Regions from separate parts of the Homo sapiens genome. Here regions 1, 2 and 4 are each linked to region 3. The links are contacts of gene promoters, found by promoter capture Hi-C in blood cells and fetal thymus (Javierre and others, 2016). All regions are on one chromosome and are shown on one strand. Each heading gives the region's core, a stretch centred on a gene start or on the middle of the fragment in contact. The rest is flanking DNA. Distances are from core to core; before and after follow the strand shown.

Region 1 (4,255 bases), core at 92-2,591, 1.5 Mb before region 3:
AGTGAGTGGGGGTCAGAACTCAGATCTTCTTGGATCCAAATCAGACACCCTTCTCCCACGTAAAACCCTCACCCTAATCTTAACACTTTTGTGGCTCCATGGCTTCCTCAGTGATTTTAGGAGGAAAAAGGCCACAGCAAGTGTGTTGGTGTGCACATGTGCATGTGTGCCTGTGTGCTCGTGTGCATGCCTGCATGTGTATGTGATGCCTTACTTGCTGAGGGAAGGGCAGGAGGGTTGGCAGTCTCTGATTTTTTGTCTGGATCTCGGACATTTTACGTGCCACTCCTGAGACAGCCAGAGACCTGTAGTGTGTCAGGACAAGGGGTCTCAGGAGGAGACATGTGAAGTAAGGGTGAGTGAAGACCCTGAGTCCCACAGGGAGTCCAGCCTGTTCCCCACAGAGATGTGAGCTCTGCAGTCCTCTGCCCAGGCCAGCCAAGGTTTGGGGAAGGGTCTGGGGGAGGCAGGGGCAGATCCATGGAATTTCTCCTCTGGACATGATTTTGGGAAGAAGAGGAGATCAAATATTATAAAACATCTGCACAGCATGTGGCATCTCATTAGGGGGATGGGACCACACCCATATCTCTCTCTCTCTCTCTCTCTCACACACACACACACACACACACACACACACACACACACACACACGACTCCCTTTTTTAGCTTGGCCTTTCCTCACCAGGAAAACTTTCAAGCATTCTTTTTAGGCTGTAACCAATAGTCATCAATATGTTTTCCAGTGAGACTCAGTGCACACATCCATATATTAACAATTAACAAATTTTTTATGCAAAGCCTTATAATAAAGTCCCAGAAAAGGACACTGTTGGCAAATCTAGGGCTGAGATTTTTGTTCTTGCTGGAATTTTTGGAGTAGAGTGTTTAAACTGCAGACCTAGATCCATTAGGAGGTCGTGACATCAATTTGGTCAGCCCTTTAAAAGAATTGCACAGTGTAGCACAATAGGAAATATCAGAGTGCATCAAAAGTCACAAATGTTAGTATTATGTGGTGAAACATTTGGTTCATTGCCAATATGTGTGTGTATCTAGAAAGTCTCCTTGTAAAATGCCTTGATGACAGTGGGTTACATTAAAAAACATTAAAGACACACTGTTTTTAGAAGCTTTCCTGAAAGTACTTTATATTGAGGAAGGACTAGCTTTTTAGGCTTGTGAAGAAAGGAAAGGTGTGGCTGGAGGTGAAGGGAGGGAGGCCCCGGGCCCCTCAGGGGGTTGGGGGGAAAGGCTCCAGACAAGCTAGCACAGCATGTGGCTTCCTGGGGTCCAGAGCTTTCTGGTCCAGAATTGGGTTGGAGGAGTAGCAGAAGTGTCTCCTGTCCCCCTGATGAAGAAAGAAGAATCTAGTGAATAAGGAAAAGCATGGAAATAGTAGAGACAAGGAGCTCTTGACAAATCCATCAACCACCCTGTGCCTTCATGTCCCCATCAGCAAAATAGGATGGTGGGGGTGATAGACCTTCATGTTCCTGACAAAATGAAACACAGTCAACACAAAACCAAAAGAAACATTGGAAGCTTCTTAAGAGATGACATTCCCTAAATTGATTTTTGGGGAATACAAACTCATGCACAACCACCTATCCTAGAAGTCAGGAAAAGTGTATGCTTTAACCCATTTTGGCTCTTCTTGAGTGCCTGGTGCATGCAGGCACTCTGATAGGTTGTGAATAAACCAGTCCCCATACTCAAGGAGGTTTTCCAAACTAGTTAGGAAGCTAAGAGGGTCTCAGAAGAGGAAGATAACATGGAGAGCTCTAACTAATTGCCCACAGGGTGGTACAAACCCTGAGGGGTACAGCCATTCAGAGAAGGTTGAGGGCAGGATGAGCTTAACATGTACGATGCACAAGGTCAAACAGCTGGAAGTGCAAGAGTAGGGGTGACTTGTCTAAGAGGAAATATAATAGGGAGGGCTTGACTAGTTGAGAATGAGAGCAAGGCTTGGAGGCATAAGAATGTGAGGTCTCACTCAACAAAGGCTGTTGCACGTCTGTAAAGACTCAAAGTCACTGTGCCAGGAACAAGGGTGGATTCACAGAAGATCAAGGCAGCAGTGTCTCTCCTCAGGGTGGGGGTTGCACCAGGGACCAGCAAGTTGATGGCTTCATCTGCAAAAGGAGGTTAAAAGGCAACTGTGCCTCTCAGACTGCAGGCCGACACACTAGGGATTGTGAAATCAATATTTTAATGAATGAGAACAGACTGAAGTAGACTAGAACTTACCAGTGTGCAATGTATTCACACTGGAAATTTAGCTGCACAATAATCCATCCACCGACATGGAGAAATGACCCAAGAAACTGCCAGCAACATGGTCAAGAGTAGAGAATGGCATCCAAGGAAAACATGTCAGGGAGATTCCCTGGACGGAATACCTCTTGGCCTGGCTGGCTCCAGCTGAGATACTGAAATGCAAGATTCCATTAGGTGCATCCGTGCGTGATGGGAATGTGTCAAATATATTCTCACTGTGAGTCACCATCAAAAGACCTGGATGCCATTGACTTAATACCTCCCAAGATTCCTTACAGTGCATCTAGTTGCTGACTGAATGATTGTATGCTTGTTGTAGGCAGCTGCTTATGTGCCCTTGGTGATGAAGAGGTTGGCAGGGCAGGGAGAAATGGGGGGTGGCTGATAAGTCTGGGTTAAAGTTGGAGAGCAGCTGTGGCACATAGCAGCAACACATGCAAACACAGGAGCCGAGGCCTTTCCCTGAAAGAACCTAAAGGGCCTAGAATGTTTTCAACTCTCTTGACACCTTTGACCTGAGACTGCCTTCACTGTCCTAAATCTGAAATGCAAGTTCATAGGACAGGCTGTGGATGAGGAGCTGGAAACTCCCAACCAGCAGGTCTGGAGACATCTGTGATGCCGGGGGCACGGTGGAATTTCCTGGGAGGGAAATGCATCAACCTGTATGTAAGCACAATATGGGGGGGCAGGGGGAGGATCTCTTCACTAAGGAAAAGAGCAAACTGCTTTCTGGGGGTGGCAGCTGTCCCTACGCAGTGGCATTTCTCAGCCTCCAGGAACGAGCCCCAAGAGTTCTGTGTTCCAGGCTCTCCTACCGGGGTGATGAAAATCAACAATTGACACCCCCAGAAGAGGACAAGAGAGACATCTGGCAATCCCTGAAGACGGGCTCCCTCTGCTCTGCCTCACTATTAAACACACACATTGCTCTCCAGATGTGGCCAGTGGTCCCCTCTGAGGGGACACCGGTCAGTGCTGAGGGTTGATTGAGAGATCATGGAAACCTGACTCAAACAACCTCCCCAAAGTGGGCTGGGCAGATTTTCAAAGTGGCGAAACAGAATTCCAAAGGCAGGATGTGCCCAGATGGGCCTTGGACATATGCTGCACAGTATGTCTCAGAGATAAGGTGACAGGGTGGAGAAAGGAGGTGTGCCTGGGGCCACAGACATTGCTCCTCACGCCCCAGCTGGGTGTGAGCCGTCTCAGGCTAGCATGCTCTTTCCCTGCCCTGTTCCTGGTTCTCTGGCTGGCTTTGCAGGTCAAAGGGCCTCCTTCTACCTGGAATGTCTGAAGTGACAGAAGAATTTAGGGGGACACATCTCCCAGAAGACGGTCCTGCCCTGCGTCTACTTGACCCTCTGGTGGCTCATACATTTGGACAGGCTGCCAGCCACCACCCAGCAGGATAGATGGTCCCCAGGATGAGGGACAAATCCCCGAGAGATCAGTCAGTCTTCCCTGTCTCCAACTGCTGGTACCTCCTACCCCTGGCCCTAACGGCCCCTCACTAGGGCTGCCCACTCTTCCTGGGCAGGCGAGAGCCTTAGCAAGGTCGGTAATGTCATAAGGTGGATCTAGGAAATACTGCTGAGTAGGAACTCTTCCCAGGATCCTGAAGAATCAGCAACTGCAGGATCTGCCTGAGCTATCTTCTTTTGGTGCCACAGATGTCTCCTCACCAAACAGGCTTAAGCTGTGGGGCACCCGTGCAGATGGAGTTTGAACACACTGGAAATTTAGCTGCACCACAATCCATCCACCGACATAGAGAAATGGTCCAAGAACCCGCCAGCAACGTGGCCAAGAGAAGGGAATGGCATCCAAGGAAAACATGTCAGGGAGATTCCCTGGATGGAATCCCTCTCAGCCTGGCTGGCTCTAGCTGAGATAGTGAAATGCAAGATGCCAGTACCAAACGTATTCTTGGTATTTAGGACTACTCACTTAAAGAGTTATCGAAGATCAT
Region 2 (4,173 bases), core at 302-2,801, 1.5 Mb before region 3:
CTACCCTCTTCCCTTAACAATAAAGGGACCGGAAATGCACATTGCCTTAAGACAGTTCTTTAGGACATTAGTCCATCATCTTCTCGGTTGAGCAGATAAACTGAGTTATTGCCCTCTTGCCCCAACACCTTGTCTCGTGACTTATTGACTGTCCTGCAGTGAGCAATACCAGCTTAGACTCCACTACATTATCTTGTAGTATTCATCTGTTCCCTTACTTTTGACAAGTGTTTACTGACTACCAACTATGTGTAAGGAAAGTGCTAGATCCTAGGGAATATATTTTTAGCTCTCTGGATACAGAAGATGAAATTTAGTTTGAGAAGTTATTGAACAACTTGTTCAAAACATCTACTTAACTGTCATCTATTTCAACTTGAACTGCCTTTCTATTAAATGTACCACTATTAAATGTTGTGATGGTACTAGAAAATCAGCAATTTGTAAAGCATTTGCACAAATTCTAACAAGGCTTACCACTTCGGCTTTTTCTATTATCTACTTAGCAATCAAAGCAACGCCTTAATTTAACGTATGATATTGAAAATAATTTTACAATATTTCCAATTAAGTTAATTTTCACATTGCTTTTGTGCTCTTTGTCATCACATGGAGAATGATGAATTCTATTTTACATTTCATTAGTGAACATAAGGTGTGTTTTTCCATTTGGGTCACTATTAGCTCTCTATTATCTAATTTCAAAAATACTGAGTTCAGTACCCAATCTACAAATTATACAGTAACCACTTCTCTAAATGAACCACAATTTAGAGTTAAGCTCACAAGCCATTTCTTCATTTGTGCAAATGTGTAACAAGCCAAAGCTTAATGGTTCATTTCAGTTAAGTAGGTTGCACAAAATTTAGAAGTTTGTTAGTAAGAAATGTGACCTAGAACCATTATGGAAATGAAGAAAAGATGAAATTACACAGTTTAGACCCATATTATCCAACTCCTAATTTAGTCAGAGATTATTGAAGTGACAACTCTCCTTTTTATGAAATAAAATACTTGAAAAAATAAGAACATTGTTCTGCTTTTAATCTCTGCTAAATAGACAGTTAGTTACCAGGAGAAATATGTTGTAAAAACCAGCCTATGAAGAATATCAGGAAAGAAAGTAATGTTACCTGGAAAATCTAACCTACTAAATTTTGATAAGCATATGAGCCACCAATCTAGTTACATTGCCAGGAAATTCTGATAAAAGGCAACTATTAATTTCTAAAGGATAAATCTGACAGAATCTCAGGATAATTCCATTTGGACTCCTTATTTTTTATTATTATTATTATCTTTTTTTTTTTTTTTAAATTTATTTATTTTTTTTTTTGAGACGGAGTCTCGCTCTGTCGCCCAGGCTGGAGTGCAGTGGCGGGATCTCGGCTCACTGCAAGCTCCGCCTCCCGGGTTCACGCCATTCTCCTGCCTCAGCCTCCCAAGTAGCTGGGACTACAGGCGCCCGCCACTACGCCCGGCTAATTTTTTTGTATTTTTAGTAGAGACGGGGTTTCACCGTTTTAGCCGGGATGGTCTCGATCTCTTGACCTCGTGATCCACCCGCCTCGGCCTCCCAAAGTGGGACTCCTTATTTTTTTTTAAGTTTTTGTGCTATTGCTATGGAAATATTCTGATGATTTACATGGTTGTGCTAGAGTTTTTTAATTTGTCTATTAGAATTGTGAGAACTTCCTTTACAAAAGTGCTCATTTTTATGTAGCTAAGAGACCAGTACAGATCTTCTCCAAAGAATATCATCATCACAAATTAAATAAAAACTTAGCATACAAAAGGATTCACATTTTACTGCTGAAAGTGCCTCCGGATCTAAATCAGCCCATCAATCAAGGCTTTCTTAGACACTGACTAAATGTTTAGCATAATCCTGAGTACTCTGGGGCTGTGGAACTCTGCATCTGCTGAACGCCAGGATCTAATGGGGAGCTTTATCAAATAAACAGGTTCCCGGTGGCTCCACTTCTGAAGATTCAAATTGGTGGCTTCTGGCATGAGGCTCTTGGGAATCTGGTTTTTTTGTTTGTTTGTTTGTTTTTCTTTTTTTGTCTTGTTTTGTTTTTAACATCACAGGTGATTCTGATGATTAGTCAGGACTGGGAACCATACCTGCTGTGGTTCCCAAAATCTGGTCCCTGGACCCACATTATCTGCATCACCTAGCAACTTATTAGAAATGCAAATTCTCAGGGCTGTGAATGGAAAATAAAAATCTCGGGACCCCGAACTCACTATGCCAAAGGGAAAGTGAAGCTTGGGAACTGAGTCACACAAAAGCAATCAAACTGCCTTCCTTTTTGTTCCCAACCAAATAGCTGCAAAATAGAAGGTCACATATCTTCCCAGGGGTCCTCCCTCACAAATTGCTCACAAGGAAATTCCTCGTGGACTCCACATCTTTCAGAATACATATCCCTCCTATAAACTTGCCCTAAAATAGAGTGCTGTTGAATCTTACCCTGACAATGCAAATTAACAGCTTATTTTCACAGGTAAGGGCCAAACATAAGACTAGAAATTCCTCCACCCACCCCAAACAAATGCATAATTGAGTTCTTCCTCTACTCTATGCTTACTTTATCTTATGTAAAATGTAGATATACGCAGCATGAGAAGAATGCATAATTGACTTTAACCCCACCACTCTCTTTTCACATGTAAAATGTGGATTCAGTGAGTAGTTTTTAAGGGCTAATAGAAGCCTCACAAGAATGTAAACATGTTACTGCCTACACCCAGCCTCTTTTTTTTTCTCCTTCCTCTTCTACCTGCTCTTTCCTCTTTAAATATTGAAGTCCTCAAAACCCTCTTTGGAAAAAGTACAGGCCGCAGATTCTACTGTAACTTGTGTTTCTTTTTCCCTGGCCACATCCTCAACCTTGGCAAAACAAACCTCTAACTCGATTGAGATCTGCCTCAGCCACTTTTTGGTTCACAGGCTCTATTCAGACCCACTAAATCATAGACTCTTGAAGTAGGGATTAACAATCTCTGTTTTATCAAGCCCTCCAGGTGATTTTTATGTTTGATACAGTTAAAGAATCATTTCAGATTTTTAATCTACTGAGCTTAATGACCTTTTCTTCATATGAAGATTGATGTCAAAGTTCTTTCTTTCTTTGCTGCAGAGCTAAGGAAATAGGACTTACTTTTTTCTCTTCGATTACCTAGCCAGCCACTATACCCTTCAGGGTTCTCTTATTCTTAATATGCCTGAAAAAGTGTGGAGAGGAAATAGCTTTCTCAACTTCCCACTTCCTTGCTGCTTGGGAAGACAAGAATATATGTAGACAGGCCCTTCTGCTTCCAAGGAAAATAGGAAGGAGATAACAAATGATAACCAATATGAAGATGTGTCAGAAGTTCTGGAATTTTAAAATGACTTTCTGCCCTGGTCTTGTACCCCCGGTTTTTATTCCTGATTATGGAGCTCACACCCTCCCCACTTTCTCACTCCTCCTTTAGCAAACCCTTATGACTCTTCACACCAATTCAAGGTCTAAAAAGAAAATACAGCCAGCCAGAGATGGCCTCTTTCAGCATAAATTTTATTTTTACTTGTTAATGGAAATCTCCCTAAAACAAAATTGTAAGAGTTAAAGAAACAGGAAAGAGACACGAAATGTGGTTTGACAGTAAAGACAGGTTTACTTTTGATAAAACCTGAGAGGGGCTTCTGGCTGACTTTGGTTAGGAGCACTTTCTCTTACAGACTAAGAGAACATATTGGTTTTAGGGTAAGGGGGCTTATTAGAAGCTTGGAATGTTTCTGTGTGAGGGACAAGTTTTATGGTGGGGTTGGAATGTCTCTGGGAGGAGGGGAGTTTATCTTGGGGCAGACATCTTTCTGGCTTGGAGTGGGGTTATCTCGGAGCTGGCATCTTCCTGGCTGGCGGGGGGTTATCTCGGGGCTGGCAAGTCTCTGATTGGGGAGGAGTTTGGAATGTTTCTGGTTGGAGATGTTATTTGTGGTTATTGTGGTTTATGCTGACCTTAGCCATTAGGCTGATACCCTTTGGATTTAGGCGTTTTTTTTTTATTAAGGTGAACTTTAGAATGAGGGGCTTGTCCAAGATGGTGATGCTCCTGCTCTGTCAAAAATTTGTTTACTGTCATCTGGATTTTTGTTGATGGATCATTTAGTATTATTACAAT
Region 3 (4,217 bases), core at 1,496-3,995:
CAGTAGTGATTACTATAGTTGGCTCAGTAATTATGATGCTATTGTGGGGATTTGGTCTTACTTCTGGTCAAAGTTAATGCCCATGTACTTAATGACTCATGAGGTATTTCTCTTACTGTATCATAGGAAATTTCTTAGGCATGAGGTAGACATCATTGTGCCTGATATAAGCACCATAATAGGGTTCCACTTTACTATTATCTAAATCTTTAGTCATTCTCCAACTCTGATGCAATTGATATGATTTCAATACATTTATTTTAATTGTTAAAAATAACGGTTGGACATGATATCATTGGATGTACAGAACTATATCAACCTAATGATATGTTTTAGAAAATATACTTGTATTACTCCCAGATAGAGAAGGTCTTTATTGTTTGTCTGAGACAGGGTCTCGCTTTATTGCCCAGGCTGTAGTGCAGTGGCTCAATCATGACTCACTGCAGCCTTGACCTCCTGGGTTCAAGCAATCTTCTGCCTCAGACTCCTGAGTAGCTGGGACTACAGGCACATGCCACCATGCCTGGACAACGTTTTTAAATTTTATTTTTGTAGTGATGGGGTCTCACTATGTTGCCTAGTCTGGTCTTGAAGTCCTGGGCTTAAGTGATACTCCTTCCTCAGCCTCCAAAATTGCTGGGGTTACAGGTGTGAGCCACCACACCCAGCCAAGAAGGTCTTCTTAATACCCAAAATGCAAAAGCTGAAGGAAAACAATGATTGATTCATTTTACCACATAAAAATTTTAAACATCTTTAGTATTAATAGGGATTATTATATTCTAAGCACTCATATTAAACTATATAAAATAGGTTACGATTACTGTGCCCATTTTACAGAATAGGAAGTTAGGATTTAGAGAGATGAAGTAATTTAGGGCTCTAATGGCTAAATTGGTGAAGCCAGGATTTAAATCCTATAAGCCTGACTCCAAACTCCATGTTCCTAAGCCCTGCATTATATGTATCTTCACTCATATTACAAAAAGCTTTATAGTCAAAGCTAAAAAGAAACAGACCTGGAGAAAATATATGAAATATGTATTCACACACACATGTTCCCATACATTAATAAGGACAACCCAATAGGAAAATAGGGAGCAGAAGCAGGCAGCACACAGAGGGGAAAACTTAAATGTCCAATAAATGAATGAAAGTCCAGCCCCTCCAGCAATCATGAATGCAAATCAAAAAAACAAAAAGATGTCATTCCTTATGAGTTTGACAATTCAGAAGTTGATTTTTACAAAGTATTCTTACCCCCATTAAGAGGGTAAGACATACTGTTTTGTACCCCTTGGCCGGGCGCGGTGGCTCATGCCTGTAATCCCAGCACTTTGGGAGGCCGAGGCGGGTGACTTGCTTGAGGTCAGGAGTTCGAGACCAGCCTGGTCAAGATCGTGAAACCCCATCTCTGCTAAAAATACAAAAATTAGCCAGGCACAGTGGCGGGCGCCTGTAATCCCAGCTACTCGAGAGGCTGAGGCAGGAGAATCGCTTGAACCCAGGAGGCAGAGGTTGCAGTGCGCTGAGATCTCGCCACTGCACTCTAGCCTAGGTGACAAAGCAAGACTCCATCTCAAAAAAAAAAGAAAAAAGAAAAAGAAAAAAAAAAGACTTTTGTACCCTTCATACACTGTTGTGGTAGTGCCAATTGACAGTCTCTTCCTTAGGGAGGGTCACCTGGCACTAGTCACAAACTCCACATACTCTTCAATCCAGCAGTCTCCCTCCTCAGCATCCTCTCCTGACACAGGCACATTCTACAAAGAGGCATGCACACTGATATTCATTGCCCTATTTGCAGTAGAAAAAAAAGACAACACCGGGCAGAATGACTTAGATTTTCATGGAAAATTAGTGGAAAAAGTTGTAAAATATGTACAATTGATTTATATACACACATACCCCCCTACTGCAAAGCAAACTATGTACGTCCATATATGGATGTAAAAGCATAGGAGAGTATACACAAGCACACCTGGAGCAGGAAAGGGTCTAGAAGGATTTCAGCTTTTTCTGCCATAAAGATTATTGCTAAAATACATACCACACAACAAACCAACCCATTTCCCACAAATATTACTGTTTGACTTCTCACAAGATACATATAGATTTTTATTGTGTCTCTTCCTTCTGTGTTTCTCTTTTTTCCTAACTGAACTTTGTTCTTTATGCAGGCCCTCTTCCAATCCTGATATATTTTAAAACCTTTAGCATTTCTGCCTACAATATTTGGGTTTTCTTCTTTTCCTGTCTTTATTTAATAAGCCCCATACAAATATTTTCCCCATAATCACAATGTTTCCTTTTCACCTTGCTCAAGAACTGAGTTATGAGCTCCAAATGAGGTCTTTAAAAATTTAGATAAACTCTACATTGGCTAAGTTTTAGTCATTTGCACTGCTAATAAAGATGACAAACACGCTGAAGAAGACTTCCTCCCTTATAAAGGGGCTAGCACAGAAGGCAATACTGTTCATACTTCTGATTCTTGATCACGAGAATTGCCTTAGGCAATTATAACAATGACTCCTCTGACACATAATATTATTCAAGCGAGACAGATAAAGGCGTATGTCCTGTGTCACACAGCTAGGTGGTGACAGCTGCCTTAGCATCAGCACACTGTGTTCCCTCTAATTTCTTCACTCATCTCTAGGTGGCAGTAAATCTGGTTCCGAATACTGACTTTGAGACTCGGCTTTCTCCACATCCTTCCTGTCACTTCCTTTGAGACTAATTCAGATTCTTTCCTTAGCTTCTATTTCCCCATTTGTAAAATTGGGATGATGAGGACATCTTCCTTGGGTAGCTGTGACAATGAAAATGGGATCATCATGCATCAGCCTTAGCCCCACGAGTGCCACAGTAAACTCTCAGTAAGTGAGGTTGTCATCATTATTGTATATTTAAGATTATCTACCTATTCAGAAAACCCTAGTGACAGAGTCTCAATTGCTTTTCTTTTCGCATGAATGATTACTTGCTGAATTCATCAACCTCTTTAACATTTACCTTCCTTTATTGTGCTGGAACATTTTTAATGTCTTTTGTGGCTTCTCACTATGACTGCTTTGTTCAAAACTTATACAGGTCGAGTATCCTTTATGTGAAATACTTGGGCCAGAAGTGTTTTGGGTTTTGATTGTTTTCAGATTTTGGAATATTTGCATATATGTAATGAGCTATCTTGGGGATGGGACCCATGTCTAAACACAAAATTCATTTCTGTTTCATACACACTTAGCCATATACACAGAGCCTGAAGGTAATCTTACATAATATTTTAAATAATTTTATGTATGAAACAGTTTTGAATGTCTTTTGACTGTGACCCATCACATGAGGTAAGGTATGTGGAATTTTCCACTTGTGGCATCATGTCAGCACTCAAAACGTTTTGGATTTTGGAGAATTTCAGATTTTGGATTTTCAGATTAGGTGTGTTCAATCTGTATATATGGGTAAGATTCAGTTGTCTCCTTTAATCCTCGGCTGAAGGAAGCACTAAAGATTTTGGGGCCTTAATCTCCCATGCAGTGACACTCTCAAAGCCATTGACTCAGCTTCTCACCTGGGCTTCCTTCCAGTGAGCCGCAGATAGCAGTCATAGATAATGGCAGGGGCCCGGTGGCTGACCGCATTCCAGTACTGTGATGTGAAGCTGTTGCTGGTAAAATTAGCATTTGGCCTCCTGAAAGGTCTCTCAAATGGGATTTTTTCAAAGGTTGCCAAGACTTGGACTCCTGGGGAAAAAAGAAAGTAAGTGCTAGAGGAGAAAAGGAGAATATAAGTCCATCATAGTGGAAAGCATTTGTAATGGGTCAAAACAATAAAGACGAAGGATTTGCTGTGTAGAGTCAAGAATCAATTTCTGAGAACAATATAAAGATTTTTGTGCTGGGCAAATGGTTATCTGCAAACTGAAACAGTGTGAATGGGTTAATAATTGGATTCTTTAGTTGAAGCATTTACTGTAAAACAAACTATTGGGGAAACACTTGTCAATACAAGGAGGTACTGTTCAGAAAAACATGAATCTGCCTTTAATTCTAAGGTCATCCAGTCTATTCTGAAAGCCCCAAGACAGAGGCGAGAGACCTTATTTCCCTGGCTGGACCATTACTTTCAGAACCATTTAGAAAGTTTCTTAACATTTTATTTGAATCTTTATTAAAGGTTTAAGTAAAAGATTGTAAAGATTCTCAAGG
Region 4 (4,498 bases), core at 1,671-4,170, 1.5 Mb before region 3:
TAGGTCTCCGGATGGCTGCGGGCGGGCCTGACTGATGTCAGGCCTTCCACAAGAGGTGGTGGAGCAGAGTCTTCTCTAACTCCACCGGGGAAAGGGAGACTCCCTTTCCCGATCTGCTAAGTAACGGGTGCCTTCCCAGGCACTAGCGTTACCACTAGACCAAGGAGCCCTCTAGTGGCCCTGTCCGGGTGTGACAGAGGGCTCACACTAGTCTTCTGGTCACTTCTCACCATGTCCCTTCAGCTCCTATCTCTGTATGTCCTGGTTTTTCCTAGGTTATAATTGTAGAACAAAGATTATTATAATATTAGAATAAAGAGTAATGCTATAAACTAATGATTAGTAATATTCATATATAATCATATCTATATTCTATGCCTAATATAACTATTCTTATTTTAAGTATTTTCTTTATTATACTGGAATAGCTTGTGCTTTTAGTCTCTTGCCTCGTCACCTGGGTGGCTTGCCGCCCACAGAGGGCCCAGGGGATTGGTTTGACCAGGTGTGTCATTCACGAAGCCCGTGAAAAACCCGGCCCTCCCACCTTATCCTTTTAATGTGCAAATGTGGGCCGCTCTGATGTCCTGAACACATGCAGTTACCTGGAGGTGGCCATGACACTTGGCATACCTGGTGACAAGAAGAAGGCACGAATCACCATATTGGGTGGACTCAGCTTCTAATGGCCTGCGTTTGCATATCAAAGCTTGCCAGCCTGGCCCTTTAATTTGCCTTTCTGTTAGAAAAGAAATGATTTGGCCAGGTGCGGTGGCTGATGCCTGTAATCCTAGCACTTTGGGAGGCTGAGGTAGGCGGATCACTTGAGGTCAGGAGTTTGAGATCAGCCTGGCTAACATGGTGAAACCCCATCTCTACTAAAAATACAAAAAAAAAAATTAGCCAGGCTTGGTGGCGGGCACCTATAATCCTAGCTACATGGGAGGCTGAGACAGGAGAATCACTTGAACCAGGGAGGCAGAGGTTACAGTGAGCCCAGATTGCACCATTGCACTCCAGCCTGGGCGACAGAGTGAGACTGTCTCAAAAAGAAAAGAAAAGGTCTGGGGTTGCTTTTATTAAAAGAAAAAGCCTTACCGAGAATTCCTTTTACCCTTTCTATCTGCCTAAAAATTATTTCTTAGTAACTCCTGTATCATTCCCCCGCTCAAGAGAAGCAAACCTAACTGCTGTCAGGGGGTGTTGGATGGCGATTCTTTCTGGCTACTTCCTGCTGAAAAGGGGTATTGTGTGGGGAACAGCAGTTGTGCCTTCTCCTGAGGTTTATCTAAGGGTTCTTGGAAGAATGGCGTGACCATGTGTAAAAAGTAAAGTAGAGGTTCCTCTTCAAAGACTTTCCGCCCCGTCTAATAAGAAATAAATAGTAACTTCTCTTAAAAGCAAAATTTATTCAAAGACCTGTGCTAACATTCTTAAATATCTGCTAGCCATAATAAAGAAATCAATGTAATTTATGTTCTTAGCTCCCACAATTTAGCCTAAATATTTGCCCTGGCATGCTTATACTGGTCCAAGCAAGCATTAGATCATAGTCTGTTCCTCTTCCTTATTTAAAAGTGTTTTTACCTTTCCCAGCATTCCACAAGTTACTTCCTCCTTCTTTTGTTCTCCTCTACCTTTGCCTCTTTTAAAAAGTTCTAAGTTGCTAGCCAATCGGGACAAATACAGAATGTGAGGTCCCATTCCAGCTATTGGAAACTGGACACAGCAGTAGGGTGGACGCGTCAGGTTATAAATGACCCTGTCTCCTTTGTTCAGTGTACTCTCCTGGCAAAACTGCTGGCGAGTGTACCCTTTCTGCAAGAAGTAAAAATGGCCTTACTAAATAAACTGATGCTCAAGTGCTATTTCTTTACAAGCATTTCAAACACGTGTGGCTTTGCTCGCAGCACCGTTTGGAGTTTGATTGCTTCCAGGTGAAAAGAGATAAATTTTATAAGAAAATTTAAAATATAGGGTTAGAATGTGAGTATTAAGATTACCACCGTGAGTGGGGGTCCTATAGACCCTGAGTTTCATACCTATTAGTTACACCATGGATTGCAATACCAGTATCTCGCTGTACATTACCAGAAACATTAATATAAAAGAAACATTTTCCTTGAGAAAACCATACATTTCCCCTTTGACTTGCCATTAGAGAATAACTTTAAGCTTAGGCCATTTTCCTAACTTGCAATATGCTTGGGAGAAATACATTAGTGGGTGGCTAAAATAACTTTAATGTTAATCTTGACAATTCCTTTCCTTTAATAATTTCATGACTTTCACAGACCCTCTTACAACATACTTAAACTTTCTGACTTGCCCTAAGCATTCATCCTTTAAACAACCAGTCATTTCCTTTTAGGACAAGTATTTACCAATGAAAATCTTTTCTTACATAAAATCTTCCTTTATAATCTTCTCTTTATAGCTTAGAGCACATTATATTACCAACCTTCAGAAAAAGTCCTATTAAACGTAATGATAGTAAAACTTTCATCCTTGCTTCTTATCCACAACTATTACTCCTGCTATAAGCGACACAATTTTGACTAAATCTTTCCTGCAACTATCAATCCTGTTATAAGGTTGATAATTAGGCAAAATATTACAGCAATTAGAATTTTACAACCAGAATTCCACATCTTGGGTGCTACAGTGTGTAGTTCTATTGTAAATAGTAGCGTGAGTATAACAGTTCTTACAAGAGTGGCATAGTGAATAATTTCCATTTAAAACTTTACTTACCAAGATATAACATTTCTCTTTGGGGAGCTACAAAGTTACAAATGCGATTCTATGAATAATTAAAATCTGCCTGCAAATATGCTTTAAAAAGAAGTTTTAATATTTGGTGGTGAACTTTGAGAGTAAAGGGTAGAAATAGCAAAAAGTATCTGGTGAGGCAGGAGTGGGACTGAGTAAGATGAGTAGCCCTCACTCAGTTACTTATCTTTTATGATTTTCAGCTTAAAATCTTCTCTTTCTGGCCCGGCGCGGTGGCTCGCGCCTGTAATCCCAGCACTTTGGGAGGCCAAGGCGGGCGGATCACGAGGTCAGGAGATCGAGACCATCCTGGCTAACACGGTGAAACCCCGTCTGTACTAAAAATACAAAAAAAAAAATTAGCCGGGCGTGGTGATGGGCGCCTGTGGTCCCAGGTACTCCGGAGGCTGAGGCAGGAGAATGGCGTGAACCGTGGGGCGGAGCCTGCAGTGAGCGGAGATCGCGCCACTGCACTCCAGCCTGGGCGACAGGGAGCCTCCGTCTCAAAAACAACAACAACAACAAGAACAACAACAACAACAACAAGAAAAAGAAAAAGATCTCTTTCTCCGCATTGATATTCAGGATATTTCTCTGGGCTGTTAGGGGCTGCTCCCTCAGCTCTTCAGGCTTTGACTTGAGTGTGATGTATTTAGAAGTCGATTCCTGTAACTTTTACTGCCGAGGGGGTTGAAAGAAGAACAGTGTAGGGCCCTTCCCAGCTTGGCTTAGGGAAGGAGACAGAGATGAGAGTTTGTACTAATACCAAATTTCCTGGGTTAAATAAAGGTGATCCTATTTTATTTCTGTAGGGGAATACTGATGTTTAATTTCTTTTTTGGAGCCTTCCTAGATTAGAAGGGCTTGAAGTGCATTAATGCCTTAAAGCTTCCTTGCCTCTGACTTAGCTTTGCCTGATTAGCCATTCTATTTCCTTTGGCTACCTTATCTGTTTCCTTTTGATGTCCCCTATAACGCATGACTGCTATTTTTTGTGGAAGAAAAACTGAGGATAATAACCTGCCAATTTCCTGGCAATATTTTATAGGAGATTCATTAGTGGTAAGAAAATGCCTTTCCTTTTGAATCGCAGCATGAGTATGGAGAGTTAAGAAAGCATACTTGGAGTTAGTATAAATGGCAGCTACCTTCCCCTTGCTTAATTTAAGTGCTCTTGTAAGAGCTATTAGCTCAGCTAATTCAGCACTTGTGCCTGGGGAGAGACGTTAAGAGTGACGACTGCTTATCCTGCCTTATGTACTTCTTGCTTTACCAGCTGTTTGTTAGCTAAGAGCTCCCCCTAGAGGACAGTAATCCTCACACATTATGTGAAGTGTAAACAGTTAAATTATTTCCTAGGGTTAACTTGGAGGCTTTTCTGACTAGTAGAGTTATTATGACTTGGAAGCATGTGTAAATAGGTCCTCCTAACTACAACTATGGTTGAGAAAAATATTGGATTAGAGTTTTTCCTGAGACACCCCTTACGGTCGTACTATGGGAAGAGGAGAGGCCTGGATTAGAGAGGAGAAAAGGGAGAGACTGGCTCTAATGTTTAGAAGGAGGTCTACTTTCCTTCCTTTAATTTCCAGAATTAGCCGGGGCTCCTGTGCTATAATGGCAGTTTGAGCCACTGAAGCCAGGGTTTGAGCCCCAGGACCCATCAGTCCTGCGGGACCATCTGTGAGACTGGTCCTGAACCCAGTGGCCTCCATCTCTGGGGGCA

Evidence for each region. Contacts are between HindIII fragments. The CHiCAGO score rates a contact against its expected background, and 5 or more counts as called.
Region 1: a contact is called between a fragment that was not itself captured here and the fragment with the promoter of FAR2-AS1 in region 3, in 2 of 17 cell types (naive B cells and M1 macrophages). The highest score is 5.7, in naive B cells.
Region 2: a contact is called between a fragment that was not itself captured here and the fragment with the promoter of FAR2-AS1 in region 3, in 1 of 17 cell types (naive CD8 T cells). The highest score is 5.3, in naive CD8 T cells.
Region 4: a contact is called between a fragment that was not itself captured here and the fragment with the promoter of FAR2-AS1 in region 3, in 2 of 17 cell types (naive B cells and M1 macrophages). The highest score is 7.1, in naive B cells.

The regions. Positions count from the first base shown.
Region 1 is chr12:30,827,095-30,831,349 of GRCh38, reverse strand. No RefSeq gene overlaps it. Among named protein-coding and RNA genes, the nearest start is that of LINC00941, 34 kb to the right of the region's middle. The HindIII fragment of the contact is 412 bases long and covers 1,136-1,547 here.
Region 2 is chr12:30,784,183-30,788,355 of GRCh38, reverse strand. No RefSeq gene overlaps it. Among named protein-coding and RNA genes, the nearest start is that of LINC00941, 9.4 kb to the left of the region's middle. RefSeq lists an enhancer at 2,366-2,867. The HindIII fragment of the contact is 1,444 bases long and covers 830-2,273 here.
Region 3 is chr12:29,316,376-29,320,592 of GRCh38, reverse strand. FAR2-AS1 (FAR2 antisense RNA 1) reads left to right here and starts at 2,745. Exons shown (of 7, transcript NR_103860.1): 1 at 2,745-2,885. FAR2 (fatty acyl-CoA reductase 2) reads right to left here. Exons shown (of 12, transcript NM_001271783.2): 9 at 3,581-3,752. The HindIII fragment of the contact is 3,353 bases long and covers 995-4,217 here.
Region 4 is chr12:30,846,945-30,851,442 of GRCh38, reverse strand. No RefSeq gene overlaps it. Among named protein-coding and RNA genes, the nearest start is that of LINC00941, 54 kb to the right of the region's middle. RefSeq lists enhancers at 1-111, 2,560-3,104. The HindIII fragment of the contact is 1,485 bases long and covers 2,178-3,662 here.